Regions from separate parts of the Homo sapiens genome. Here regions 2, 3, 4 and 5 are each linked to region 1. Evidence: promoter capture Hi-C in 16 types of primary human blood cells and fetal thymus (Javierre and others, 2016). All regions are on one chromosome and are shown on one strand. The core of a region is centred on a gene start or on the middle of the fragment in contact, and the rest is flanking DNA. Distances in the headings are between cores, read along the strand shown.

What was found. The method cuts DNA at HindIII sites, captures the fragments that hold promoters and counts their contacts. A CHiCAGO score of 5 or more calls a contact.
Region 2: a fragment that was not itself captured here is called in contact with the fragment with the promoter of B3GNT5 in region 1 in 1 of 17 cell types (M2 macrophages); the score reaches 5.2 in M2 macrophages.
Region 3: a fragment that was not itself captured here is called in contact with the fragment with the promoter of B3GNT5 in region 1 in 2 of 17 cell types (M2 macrophages and activated CD4 T cells); the score reaches 6.0 in M2 macrophages.
Region 4: a fragment that was not itself captured here is called in contact with the fragment with the promoter of B3GNT5 in region 1 in 1 of 17 cell types (M2 macrophages); the score reaches 5.1 in M2 macrophages.
Region 5: a contact is called between a fragment that was not itself captured here and the fragment with the promoter of B3GNT5 in region 1, in 6 of 17 cell types (erythroblasts, M2 macrophages, megakaryocytes and 3 more). The highest score is 9.7, in erythroblasts.

What each region holds. Positions count from the first base shown.
Region 1 is chr3:183,251,819-183,254,518 of GRCh38, reverse strand. B3GNT5 (UDP-GlcNAc:betaGal beta-1,3-N-acetylglucosaminyltransferase 5) reads right to left here and starts at 1,266. Exons shown (of 2, transcript NM_032047.5): 1 at 1,047-1,266. The region is part of intron 15 of MCF2L2 (MCF.2 cell line derived transforming sequence-like 2); the gene reads left to right. LOC124906310 (a long non-coding RNA gene) reads right to left here. Exons shown (of 3, transcript XR_007096189.1): 3 at 1,964-1,984. The HindIII fragment of the contact is 12,746 bases long and covers 1-1,788 here.
Region 2 is chr3:183,322,039-183,324,738 of GRCh38, reverse strand. MCF2L2 (MCF.2 cell line derived transforming sequence-like 2) reads left to right here. Exons shown (of 30, transcript NM_015078.4): 6 at 1,388-1,504. Among named protein-coding and RNA genes, the nearest start is that of B3GNT5, 70 kb to the right of the region's middle. The HindIII fragment of the contact is 4,944 bases long and covers 1-2,700 here.
Region 3 is chr3:183,153,521-183,156,220 of GRCh38, reverse strand. LAMP3 (lysosomal associated membrane protein 3) reads left to right here. Exons shown (of 6, transcript NM_014398.4): 2 at 1,830-2,539. Among named protein-coding and RNA genes, the nearest start is that of LAMP3, 7.9 kb to the left of the region's middle. The HindIII fragment of the contact is 4,200 bases long and covers 1-2,700 here.
Region 4 is chr3:183,172,405-183,175,104 of GRCh38, reverse strand. It overlaps the pseudogene SNORD3P4. Among named protein-coding and RNA genes, the nearest start is that of LAMP3, 11 kb to the right of the region's middle. The HindIII fragment of the contact is 3,498 bases long and covers 1-2,700 here.
Region 5 is chr3:183,354,139-183,356,838 of GRCh38, reverse strand. The region is part of intron 3 of MCF2L2 (MCF.2 cell line derived transforming sequence-like 2); the gene reads left to right. Among named protein-coding and RNA genes, the nearest start is that of MCF2L2, 73 kb to the left of the region's middle. The HindIII fragment of the contact is 4,685 bases long and covers 1-2,700 here.

The DNA of each region.
Region 1 (2,700 bases), core at 17-2,516:
GCCCCCGAGCCTACCTGCCGCACCTGGGCGGCGGCCCGGCCTGGGTCCCAGCCGCTGGCCACCCGCGCGGGCAGGCCGGAGGGAACAAAGGCGTTCCGGGGAGGGGACGAGCCTCCTTCTCCGCCGCGCTTTCAGAGGGCGGGCTGCCGGGGCCCGCGGTGGGAGAGGCCTCCCCGGCTTCCCGACTTCCCGGCGCTGGGCCGTGCGCGGTCCGGGCCAGGGCGGCGGGCCCCGATCCGGTGTCCACGCCAGCCACGCGCCCCCGGCCCAAGCGCGCGTTCCCACCTGAAGTCCTGGCGCCACCCGCCGGGCGAGGGCCGGCGTGCCCTCACCTCCTCGCCACTCTTCTCCTCCAGAGACCTCGCTCGGCCCGGAGTGGGCAGACTCGGAGCCTCCCGCGCCGGAGACCGCGAGCCGCTCGGCCGAGGAGGCGCGGCGGGGCGGGGGCGGGGCGGAGGGGCCGGCCCGCAGCCCCCAATGCCGGGAGCCCGCGCTGGAGACCCAGGGAGCCCAGCTCGGGGCCGCGGCACGGAGAACGAACCATCCGTGGCCTGGAGACGTATCCCGCCGAGCGGCCAGAACTTTCCCCATTTAGCGATCCGGAAAGGAAGCCAACACTCCCACCCAGAGAGGCCTCGGCCGCGGAAAGATGCGGCCGCGGCACAGCCGTGTTTTCACCACGTAACTGACCACAGACTAACTCCGCGCGGAACCACCGGCCCAGGGCGCTCCGCCAAGAGGCGGACTGTGCTGGCCTCGCGGGCCCTACGCCCAGGGAACGCCGCGGTTCCTCCCACACGGGACACCGGTTCCGCAGCGCCGCGGATTAGGATGGTCTTTTACTTTCCGAGCGGGAGCTCTAACGCAGGCTCAGGCGGGTCTTGTTAAAAGGTTTCTGGTCACACCACTTATGCGTGGAGCTCTGGGGGCCTCAGTAACAAAGTAAGGAAACTTACAGCAAACTAGGGCTGCACTGCCGCTGTCCGTTTCTAAAATACGAGAAGAGGGGGAAACCCCGCCCCAGGCCAGCTTCCCAGTGACTTTACCTCCAAGTCCAGCTTCATTTCAAGGGCAGTTTAGAGCGAAACTCACGAAGTTCAAGCCCAGCTCTTTAAATGTCCAAATCGGAGGTCGGCTTTCCTTCCCGCATCGGAGCTAAAGTCGCTGGTCTCAAGAACAAAACTTGCGGGCTTTAAATCTTGGGCGAGGACTGGACGGGCAGCGCTGGACTGGGCTCGCTTCCCCGGCGGGATGCGGGCTGTATGCGGGCGGGATGGGGGCGGGCCCGGGCGGGGGCGCGAGGCTCCCAGCCGCGCGCCCCGCACTCTCGGCGTCACGGCCCGAGCCCGGCCCCGCCCGCCAGCCGCCACCCTCCCGGCGCGTAGGTGAAGGTGATGGGCCCCGCCCCAGTTTGTTCTTGTCTGTAGATGAGAATTCCAGGAAGTGTTTCCCTGCCGCTCGTCAGTTAATTGCGATCACTTACTCAAATGGCCAACTGGAAGCCAGAGTGCACATGAATGTCCTCTTTGAGCTATTTTCCTCCTTTAGAATACTTCATGCAGGTAACCAGACAATATCGAGAGATGCGGACTTCTACTCAACGAGAGAGATTATAAATGAATCCTGGATGCGCTTGATTTCTTGTTTCCCGCATGTTGTTAGACCTCTCCCTAAAGCCACAAAACATTTAACGGAGATAATATTTTGAGCGATTCTGTTATTGTACATATTTCAGAACATGACAGAAAAGCAAAAGATTAACCCAAATACTTTAGTAAAATAAAAGCTTTGAGTTTGTCGTAAAAGGAACAAGACAGGTAATGAGTTAAATGTATGATTGTCGAATCAGGGTTTAAAACAGTGGGGCCAGCAGACACGGTGGCTCACACCTGTAATCCCATCACTTTGGGAGGCTGAGCCGCAGGAGGATTGCTTGATCCCAGGAGTTAGAGACCAGCGTGGCCAACATAGCAAGACCCCATCTCTAAAAGAAAAAACACACACACAAAATGAAAACTGTTGTTCATTCAAACTAGATTTTTAGGAAGTTTTTAAATTGCTTTCCTTAAGCTGGTCAGCATCTTTTAAATCATGCAGTTCTTTTCATATGCTGCCTACACAGGGCATGGCTCAGCATCTCCCAGACTGTGGCACTGCATGTTCATCAGACCACAGACAGAAATATTTACATGTGTGATTTGCAAAGGAGTCATTGACAGTGACCCACAAATAAGCTGATTCATTGTTAATACAGCACTAATGACATACCTTCTCTAATAAAATGCTGACTGAAATCCCACATGCATTTCCCCCAGCCATCACATGTGTATGTTGTATATCTGTGCAAATATTCAATTACAATTATATTCCTTTCAGATCATTTGGAGCTAGGTCCATGTGTCAGTATACATATGTTCCACATACATGAGCACATAGAACTGTACCCACGAGAAATACAAACTGACCAAAACAGTGGTAGACACACATACAAATCACATATTCACATCATACTAGATACAGATAAACACACCAGATAGATAAATGGTTTCAAAAGTATGTCTGGAGATTGGAAATACGATGCAAGTTTTTTGGTGGTAGGAGGGAGAGATGAGAGGGTGTGAAGGAGAGATAGGCAAGGTCAAGTAGTCCAGAATGCCCACTCTGGGATCCACACAAGCTCAGATCACACATGCGAGAGGA
Region 2 (2,700 bases), core at 158-2,657, 70 kb before region 1:
TTTTAAGAGATGGGGTCTCCCTCTATCACCCAGTCTGGAGTGCAGTGATGCGATCACAGCTCATTGGAGCCTCAAATTCCTGGGCCCACGGAGTCCTCCTGCCTCAGCCTCCTGAGTAGCTGGGATTACAGGTGCAAACCACCGTACCTGGCTGGTCTCTAATTTATATTCTCATTCCAAAGTGGATTCATTCCTTGACTAATACTTTACAATAATAGAAGGAAGTCCATATTCTTATGTCCTCTGACCAAGAGTTAATTTTCAAAATAATCAACAGGGAGTGAAAAAATATAATGTCATAGTTAAAGGCTTCAAAGATGTGTTTCAGAGATAGGAGTGAGGAGTCCTTGTCCCACTCAGGAGTGAGTAGAGGGTGTGATATAGTCACTGAGTGAGCCAGAACCACACCCAGGCCAGAACTACTGCCAAGGAATAGAAAGGGGCAATTGGGGATGCGTCAGCTTCCTCTGGATGTGTGAGTGTTCGCTCATCAGCGGAACTGCTAGCTTATAAAACCCAATGCCCTGTCACCTCCAGATCCCCTCAGTGCAAGCTAAAGTAGGGACACATCAATATTCTTCATCGGGGCGCACCAGTGTAGTGAGTCTTTTCAATGCATACTCTTTGTGTTTCCCTGTATTCTAGTTTTATTTTCACATTTACCCGACCAGCTTTGATTGGGCTTCTCATGGTAGACTTTCAGGCCATTGCACAACACTTGATTTTGGTGGCTGAAAGGTGTACCTTAGCTTGGGAACTTATGACTGAAAATTCACGTAAAGCAAGGCCTGACTTCTAGGTAGCCTGGAACTGTGTTCCCTGAGCCAAGTCAACATTTTGTCACAGGCTATACCACGCTTTGGTATTTCTCACTCAAAAGCAAAAAATGGAAGAGACTTTAAAATATTTCCCTGCTGGATATAGTAACTTTTTTTTTTTTTTTTGATGTGGTCTTGTTCTGTCGCCCAGGCTGGAGTGCCATGGTGCGATCACTGTTTGCTGCAGCCTTAACCTCCAGGCCCAAGCAGTCCTCTTGACTTAGCCACCCAAGTAGCTGGGGCCACAGGTGCATGCCACCATGCCTGGCTAATTTTTTTTTTTATTTTTTTTCTAGTGATGGGGTCTTGCTATGTTGCTCTGGCTGGTCTCAAACTCCAGGCCTCAAATGATTCTCCCACCTCAGCCTTCCAAAGTGCTGAGATTACCGGCATGAGCGACTGTGCTTGGCTGTAACCATTTTTAAATATAAATGCCTGATAAAGCAAAGTTGGAGTATCATTTAAATAATAATAGAATATAAAATATAATTATGATAAGAATAGAATGTAAATGAGCTATTATTTAATGATCAATGAGGAGTATGTTTAATTAAATTTTTACCTTACAGATCATCATGGTAAACTCTGTCTCTGACCTTCACGGCTACATCGACAAAAGCCAACTGACCCGGGAATTAGGGGGGACTTTGGAATATCGCCACGGTCAGTGGGTAAATCACCGCACTGTGAGTACCAGCTTACGTGTGCTTTTCACTGTCTCTCCTTGTTTTCTGGAAGATGGGGTGGGGGAGTTAAAGATCAACTGCCAGGAGGTCACCCTGTGACTGCCTGACCTTGGGGTGGTTGGGATTTCTCAGCCACAGGGTGGGGAAGAAGGAGTGTGGAAGGGCGAAGGCTGGGATTTCTCCTGTTGACCACCTTACCCCACTGCATCTCCCGGTGTGGGGGTTTTGGGACACTTACCTTCGAATGCACCTGGGAAGTTTCCAGAAACACCAATAGCCTGTTATACCTCAGAGAAACTAATTTACTTCATGTGGGATGGGTCTTAGACATTAACACACCACAGAACTCCCCAGATGATTCTAACGTACATACATATTGACACCCATGAAGTCAGAAGAAGCTACATTTAAATAGTGTCACCCCCCGGGGACTACTATAGGTGAGAAGGTGGGAGGGGGACAAGGATTGTAGAACTATTGGGTACGATACTCACTACCTGGGTGACAGGATCAACTGTACCCCAAACCTTGGCATCATGCAATATACCCATGTAACAAACCTGCACATGTACCCCCGAATCTAAAATCAAAGTTGAAATTAATTTTAAAAAATTGTCACAATAACATGTTGTCTGATGTTGGGTGAGTTTCTAAGCATTTCTGAGCTTGTTTCTTCATCTGTTAAAATGGGACTAACACAGTATTTCTCTATAGGGGATAATTTTGCCTGCCTCCTACATTTGTCAATATCTTTAGACTTTTTTGTAGTCATAACTTAGTGGGGAAAGTTAACTGGTATCTGGTGGGTCGTCAGGGACTCCGCTGAACACCTTACAATGCTCAAGACAGCCTCCCACAACAAAGAATCCTCTGGCCCAAAGTGTGAATAGCCAATGCTGAGAAACCCCGGACTAACGAAAGCCTCCTGAAAGTTTGATGTGGGGAATAAGTGATGTATTGTCTGTGAAAGCACCTGATATATAGTATTTTACTTTTTCCTACCTACTGATACTGGTGATTGTTATGCTAAGTTAGGAGTTTCAGTAATATTGAGGAAAAAGATCAAAACTCATAGTCATGGCTTGAATGTTGGCGTCCCCTCAAAATTCACATGTTGGAACCTAATGTGATAGCATTAAGAGGAGGGGGCTTTTGGGATGTATTAAGTCATGAAGGCTCTGGCATCATAAATGGAG
Region 3 (2,700 bases), core at 201-2,700, 98 kb after region 1:
GCCCAGCTAATTTTTCTATTTTTAGTAGAGGTGGGATTTCACCATGTTAGCCAGGCTGGTCTTGAACTCCTGACCTCAGGTGATCTGCCCACGTTGGCCTCCCAAAGTGTTGGGATTACAGGCGTGAGCCACCGCGCCCGGCCCAACATCTGTGTTTTGTCCACTTTTCTGGATCCCTATGTGCCTGGAAGGAGGCAAGGATAGACCTGTTCTAGTTGGAAAAGAACGGAGGACCTCTGCCCTTAAGGACAGCCTCTGGAGAGAACCTGTGACAACAGTAGACACCGTCTGTGTGCTTAATGGTCCATGAAGAGTTTTACTTAAACCAACTCATGTGAGCCTTACAATAATCCTAAAAGGCCTACAATGCTGTTGTCCTCATTAACACATTCTGTCATTTTTTCGTTCGACCCATATTTACTGAACACTGTCTATGTGCAGGCACTGACGGTAAAAATGGTACACACAGTTTCCACCTTCACGGTGCTCTTAATCTACTAGGAAAGTTCCACAACCAACAAATAAACCAATAAGCAAACATTTAATCAGGGAAAATATTTGGCTGGTACATACTGGCCAGGCTGATTGTTAAATATTTGAATACCATCCCCATATATACTTACAAGTTGTAATTAATGCAGTGAAAGCAATGAATTTAACACTGCAGTGGAGAATCATGGATATGGGGAACTATTTTATATAAGGAGGACAAGGAAGATGCTCTGAGGAGCTGCCATGAAAGCCAGAACACAAAGGACAACCCACCTGAAATATCAGAGCAGTTATGACTTCTCTTTCTTGGTTGAGAAAGACTGGGCCACTCCAAAAGTTAAGTACGAAAATGACAGGAATTGGTCTGTATTGAGAAAACAACAAGTGACAAGATAAAAAATGGAAAGGACTGTATTGTGAAGAGATGAGTCTCCTGTCATTGGGAACAGTTAAGTCTAGATTGGATGAACGCATGGCAAAGATCTGTAGGTGTAATTCAAACATCAGATTAGGGTTTGGGGTGGGGCACGGTGGCTCACGCCTATAATCCCAGCACTTTGAAAGGCTGAGGCAGGCGGATCACAAGATGAGTTTGAGACCAGCCTGGACAACATGGTGAAACCCCATCTCTACTAAAAATACAAAAATTAGCCGGGCGTGGTGGCAGGTGCCTTTAATCCCAGCTACTCACGAGGCTGAGGCTGGAGAATCGCTTGAACCCAGGAGGCAGAGGTTGCAGTGAGCCGAGATTGTGCCACTGTACTCCAGCCTGAGCAACAGAGCAAGACTCTGTCTCAAAAAAGAAAAAAAAGATTGGAGTTTGGACTAGATGACTTTTAAGACCCCTTTCAAACCTGGGATTATATGATTCTGTGAAAACTGTGTAACTCTGTAAATCTTTATTACCATCATTCATGCTGCCCCAGCTCTATCAGGTCATACAGCAGCTGTTCACCCAGGAACACTATTTTATGTCAGCTGTCCGGATCCACATTTGAAGGTGGAGAATGAAGAGGCATTGACACTTAGATATCTAGCTGAGCATGATCACTTTGGCGTGTATTAGTACCACACCTCACACAGGCAAAGGGGCTGGGTGCTGTGGAACTGTCATAACCCTGTAAAAGGCATGGATACAACCAGAACATTACAATTGTGTCCTGGGGGTAGAATCTTTGGTGATGTTTGCTTCATTGTTGTACCCTTGCAAATTTCCCCCAAGTATAAAAATATGCATGTTAGGTTTTTTTATGAACAGACATTAAGATGGGGATGGGAGAGGGAACCTTGTAAGCAATCGGTTAGTGTTTTTAACACTTTTATTTCCTAATTTTCAGTAATTTTGCACGATGGCAGTCAAATGAGAGCAAAAGCATTTCCAGAAACCAGAGATTATTCTCAACCTACTGCAGCAGCAACAGTACAGGACATAAAAAAACCTGTCCAGCAACCAGCTAAGCAAGCACCTCACCAAACTTTAGCAGCAAGATTCATGGATGGTCATATCACCTTTCAAACAGCGGCCACAGTAAAAATTCCAACAACTACCCCAGCGACTACAAAAAACACTGCAACCACCAGCCCAATTACCTACACCCTGGTCACAACCCAGGCCACACCCAACAACTCACACACAGCTCCTCCAGTTACTGAAGTTACAGTCGGCCCTAGCTTAGCCCCTTATTCACTGCCACCCACCATCACCCCACCAGCTCATACAACTGGAACCAGTTCATCAACCGTCAGCCACACAACTGGGAACACCACTCAACCCAGTAACCAGACCACCCTTCCAGCAACTTTATCGATAGCACTGCACAAAAGCACAACCGGTCAGAAGCCTGTTCAACCCACCCATGCCCCAGGAACAACGGCAGCTGCCCACAATACCACCCGCACAGCTGCACCTGCCTCCACGGTTCCTGGGCCCACCCTTGCACCTCAGCCATCGTCAGTCAAGACTGGAATTTATCAGGTTCTAAACGGAAGCAGACTCTGTATAAAAGCAGAGATGGGGATACAGCTGATTGTTCAAGACAAGGAGTCGGTAAGTTGGGGCCACAGGACTATAACACTATCTTCAAAAAGTCTGAGTGGAGGTTGCCTTGCTAGGAATGAGCATTCCCCACATCCTGTGTCTTTAAATGAAACCAATAGCTGTGAGCTCATCTCTCTCCAAGGTGCTCCATTAAAAGGTGATTATGTTTT
Region 4 (2,700 bases), core at 5-2,504, 79 kb after region 1:
TGAATGCAACAGATTGGGATTTTTTAAAGCACGTAGAGCCCTTTGCAGCATTAACAGCAATAAACATGCCTCCCAAGTCAAAAGAAAATATAGTCCTAAGACTATACTTTCAGGGATCATTTCTATAGTTCGTCACTAGAGAAGTTTCTCTGAACGTGTAGAGCACTGATGCAGCCAAAAAACACATGAAAAAATGCTCATCATCACTGGCCATCAGAGAAATGCAAATCAAAACCACAGTGAGATACCATCTCACACCAGTTAGAATGGCAATCATTAAAAAGTCAGGAAACAACAGGTGCTGGAGAGGATGTGGAGAAATAGGAACACTTTTACACTGTTGGTGGGACTGTAAACTAGTTCAACCATTGTGGAAGTCAGTGTGGCGATTCCTCAGGGATCTAGAACTAGAAATACCATTTGACCCAGCCATCCCATTACTGGGTATATACCCAAAGGACTATAAATCATGCTGCTATAAAGACACATGCACACGTATGTTTATTGTGGCACTATTCACAATAGCAAAGACTTGGAACCAACCCAAATGTCCAACAATGATAGACTGGATTAAGAAAATGTGGCACATATACACCATGGAATACTATGCAGCCATAAAAAATGGTGAGTTCATGTCCTTTGTAGGGACATGGATGAAATTGGAAATCATCATTCTCAGTAAACTATTGCAAGGACAAAAAACAAAACACCACATATTCTCACTCATAGGTGGGAATTGAACAATGAGAACACATGGACACAGGAAGGGGAACATCCCATTCTGGGGACTGTTGTGGGGTGGGGGAAGGGGGGAGGGATAGCATTAGGAGATATACCTAATGCTAAATGACGAGTTAATGGGTGCAGCACACCAGCATGGCACATGTATACATATGTAACTAACCTGCACATTGTGCACATGTACCCTAAAACTTAAAGTATAATAATAATAAATTAAAAAAAAAGAAAATATAGTCCTACACAATCTGTTACAATGGTGGTGTATTTTTACACTTTTTATAATACACATCTATGCATTCAGTCTTGACGTGTGTGTGTGTGTGTGTGTGTGTGTGTGTGTTTCTCAGTCAACTTCTCTGCTTACAGTGTCTATCACAATATATCCATTTCCCTATGAGAATCCATTTCTCTGTGAGAACATGTAAGAACTTCAGATGGTCTCTCATCTTAGCTGAACAGAAGAGTCTGTTGGGTTCTGACCACTTGCCTCAGGAAACACATCACTTGTATCCTCTCAAACATTTGACTGTTGAATAGCCAGCCACTCACTATGGAAACACCCCCCAAAGCATTCTCAATCCTTTGGATCTCGGCCCTTTTCTGGATCTATGAGGATGTCCATACTTAATAATTCTAGCAGAATGCAAATTGGCCAAACCTCACAAGCCTCATAGGAAGACCCTGTTTGCAAATGTCTTGCCACAGGTGGGTGACCAGGGGAGTCATTCCAATACCAGTCATTGCTGGAGGTTCCTGGGGTATTGTCCTCCAGTGATCCAGGATGGTCCAATATGACCTTTCACTCCAGCCTCCTTGTCAAAGCCCCAAGCTGCTGCTCTGCTTGCTGGTGTCGTCTGGGAAAAAGCTACCCTTTGGGGCTCAGAGACTCAGACTCCCCACTGAGCCCATGGTGGGCTGCAGGGTGGGACAGGAATCATGGGATAATTCTCATAAAATTGTGCCAGGTACACCGTCTGTTCCCAGTGGACACGACATTCCCTATTCTACACCTGGACACACTGCTCATTCAGGAAATAGTTGTGCATTTTTAGACTTCTTAAAAACAGGGGAAAAAAGAGTGGCTTTTCTGTGAGTGACATTTGTGTCACCTTGTTTAAGTATAAATGGAAAAGAATCCAAAACCACCAGATAAAATCCCTCAGACTTAGAAGTTGTTCAGATCCTCCGTGGCTATATGATGTTGCCTGTTGTCCACCAGAGGAACTTAGATTTCAAAATACTGCTGACAATTGGGAATGCTGTGACCTCAGATTAAAGTGCCCTGGCTGAAGCATTAGAACTAAAAGCAGACCCAGATCTGTAAAATCTGATGGGAGTCTGAGTTCATGTTAAACATCAGCCATGCATTATGAAATATTAGAAAAGTTAGAGATCCTCTAAACCAGCCTTCCCAGAGTATACTTTGCAGAATATGCAGAAGAGTGTAAGAGCTTTTTTTTTTTTTGAATGAAGTCTCGCTCTGTTGCCAGGCTGGAGTGCAGTGGCATGATCTTGGCTCACTGCAACCTCTGCCTCCTGGGTTCAAGTGATTCTTCTGCTTCAGCCTCCCCGGTAGCTGGGATTACAGGCATGTAAGGAAGCATCCTTCCTGGCATAGACCTGGGGGTGAGGAATATCAGTTGCTACAAGAAAGACACAAAACCATGCTCAGATGCTATTGGCCCATCTCTCCTACAAAGGCCTTAAAAGCCTGGAGGAAGGGTAACAAATACTGACGCTCCTAGGGGGCTGGTAAATCCAACACAGATGGAGAAAAAGGAACAAAAACTTGAAAAACAAAACAACAACAACAAAAAACCCTCTGATTCTGGGGAAGGGGCAGGAATATGTGCTGAGCCCAAAACTACTGCTGCGGGGAGGGACAGAGAGGCTTGGTCATACCCTTCAAGGCCCAGGGACACAGTACCTGCAGGAATCAGAACTGAGAATCACAACCAA
Region 5 (2,700 bases), core at 23-2,522, 100 kb before region 1:
TTTTGTAGTTGTTTTCATTGTTTCTAGATTGGCTGTTCTGTTTGTTCACCTCAGTCTTTCTCTTTGATGCTTTGCTTTTATTCAATTCAGAAGATCTTTGGTTGCCTTTTTATATTTTTGAAGGGTTATGTTGTAAATATAATTATCTGACTTGGATTTCCTTTGCAATTGGGTAGCTCTGTTTAACCAAGGTACTTGCACTTGAATGGGAGGAAATTGAGGTCAGTAGACTCTGCAACAGTGAGTGGGTCCTATAAATAGATTTTCCTTTAGGGATGCTTGATTAGGGAGTAGGCAATACTTTTATTTTATTTATTTATTTATTTTGAGACGGAGTCTTGCTCTGTTGCCAGGCTGGAGTGCAGTGGCGCAATCTCGACTCACTGCAACCTCTGCCTCCCGGGTTCAAACAATTCTCCTGCTTCAACCTCCTGAGTAGCTGGGACTACAGGTGCATGCCACCACGCCCAACTAATTTTTATATTTTTAGTAGAGACAGGGTTTCACCGTGTTGGCCAGGATGGTCTCAATCTCTTGACCTCGTGATCAGCCTGCCTTGGCCTCCCAAAGTGCTGGGATTACAGGTGTGAGCTACAATGCCCGGCAATACTTTTTTTTTTTATAATAAAGAGTACTTTGCTCTAGAGGCAGAGTTTTTTTTTTTTTTTTAAGTCAATTTTATTTCTAGAAAGACCTGCTCTTTGTATTCTTCTTTTGAGTCTTTCTTGCATATGGTCTGAAGTTTCTTCAGGCACTGCTCTTCCTCCTCCTTAGCTTCAACTCCTATAGCCTAGGCACTGTCCTGGCAAATCTACTTTGTGAAGGAAGAGGTTTGCAAGGCTGCAGATGGGGCAAATGCTACAGCCAGCTGCTCTTTATTCACAAGGGGAGGGGAGGGGGGAAGGAGGGGCCCACTGCCCTAGTCACTCCAAGTGAGGCCCCAGAATGAACATCACCTGGAAGCCTGTCAGAAATGCAGAATCTGGGGCATCACCCCTAGCTTCATGACTTGAAATTGCTATGTTTAACAGGACCCTCAGGTGACTGGTGTGGACTTGAAAAGCATTGTTGATGGCCGGGTGCGGTGGCTCACGCCTGTAATCCCAGCACTTTGGGAGGCCGAGGCAGGCGGATCACGAGGTCAGGAGATCAAGACCATCCTGGCTAACACGGTGAAACCCTGTCTCTACTAAAAATACCAAAAAAAAAAAAAAAAAAAAAAAAATTAGCTGGGCGTGGTGGCGGGCGCCTGTAGTCCCAGCTACTCGGGAGGCTGAGGCAGGAGAATGGTGTGAACCCGGGAGGCGGAGCTTGCAGTGAGCCGAGATCGCGCCACGGCACTCCACCTATGCGACAGAGCGAGACTCCGTCTCAAAAAAAAAAAAAAGGAAAGGAATTGTTGATTATGGTAGCTAAGTAATTATTTTGCTATTCCTGCTTTCTGCCCCCCTCTACTGAAAGAGTAAGACTGTGTTGGAGTTGCCTCTAAGAGGCCTTCAAGCATTTTCCCCTCCATTTTCTAAGGTCAGTATCCTTAGAAAGAGGAATTCATTCATATCCACAAGCAACAAGATCTGATCCTTTTCTAGTGACATTACCTGTCTCTTGCTTCCTCCTCACAATCCCCTAGTTTTTTTCATTTTCAAACATTTCATGTAAATTCTAGAAATCAATATCATGTAAAGAAAGTTGTGGTGGAGTGTGTGGAGGGGATGGGATCCATTAGACTTATGAAAATAAAATAAAATAAATAATAAATAATATAATGAATAATAAATAATATTATTAAAATAAATAGAAGCATTTTATGCCAGTGCTTTAAACAATTATTTTATATCACTTCACACAGTACAAAGACCTGGAAACATGCTTTAATTCTTACATTTATTTCTGTATTTATTCATGCATTCATGATGGATTTATTCCCTTTGCATGCTTATAGGGACTACGTTATTGATCAGTAACATACCTATGTTGACTCAAAAGGGCCAAACTCTGTAAAATATTTGAAGAACTTTATTCTGAGCCAAATGTAAGGACCACGACGCCATGACACAGCCTCAGGAGGTCCTAAGAACATGTGCCCAAGGTCATTGGGTAATAGCTTGATTTTATACATTTTAGGGAGACAGGAGTTACAGGCAAACAACAATCAATACATGTAAGATGTACATTGGTTTGGTCCAGAAAGGTGAGACAACTTGAAAACTTGAACCACTGGGTGAGAGACTTACAGATCATAGGTGGATTCAAACATTTTCTGATTGGTAATTGGTTGAAATGGTTAAGTTATTATCTAAAGAGTAGAAGTCAGCAGAAAGAAATGCTGGGGGTTAAGATAAGTGGGGTGGGGTGGGAGGGTGCAGGTTGTGGAAGCCAAGGTTCTTGGTATGTAGCAGGCTTTAGAGAGAATAGATGGTAAATGTCCCTTATCAGACCGTAAAAGGTGCCAGACTCTCAGTTAAATCTCTCTCCTGGATCAGGAAAAGACCTGGAAAGGGAAGGGGATTCTCTGCAGAATGTAGATTTTCCCCACAAGAGACAGCTTTGCGGGATCATTTCAAAATATGGCAAAGAAATATATTTTGCAGAAAAAATAATTCTATTTCTTTCAGGGCCTGCTGTCATGTGACGCTGTACTAGAGTCAGGTTGGAACTTGGCATCTTATTGCTATAAAGAATCTGTTGTGTTAGTCTTAA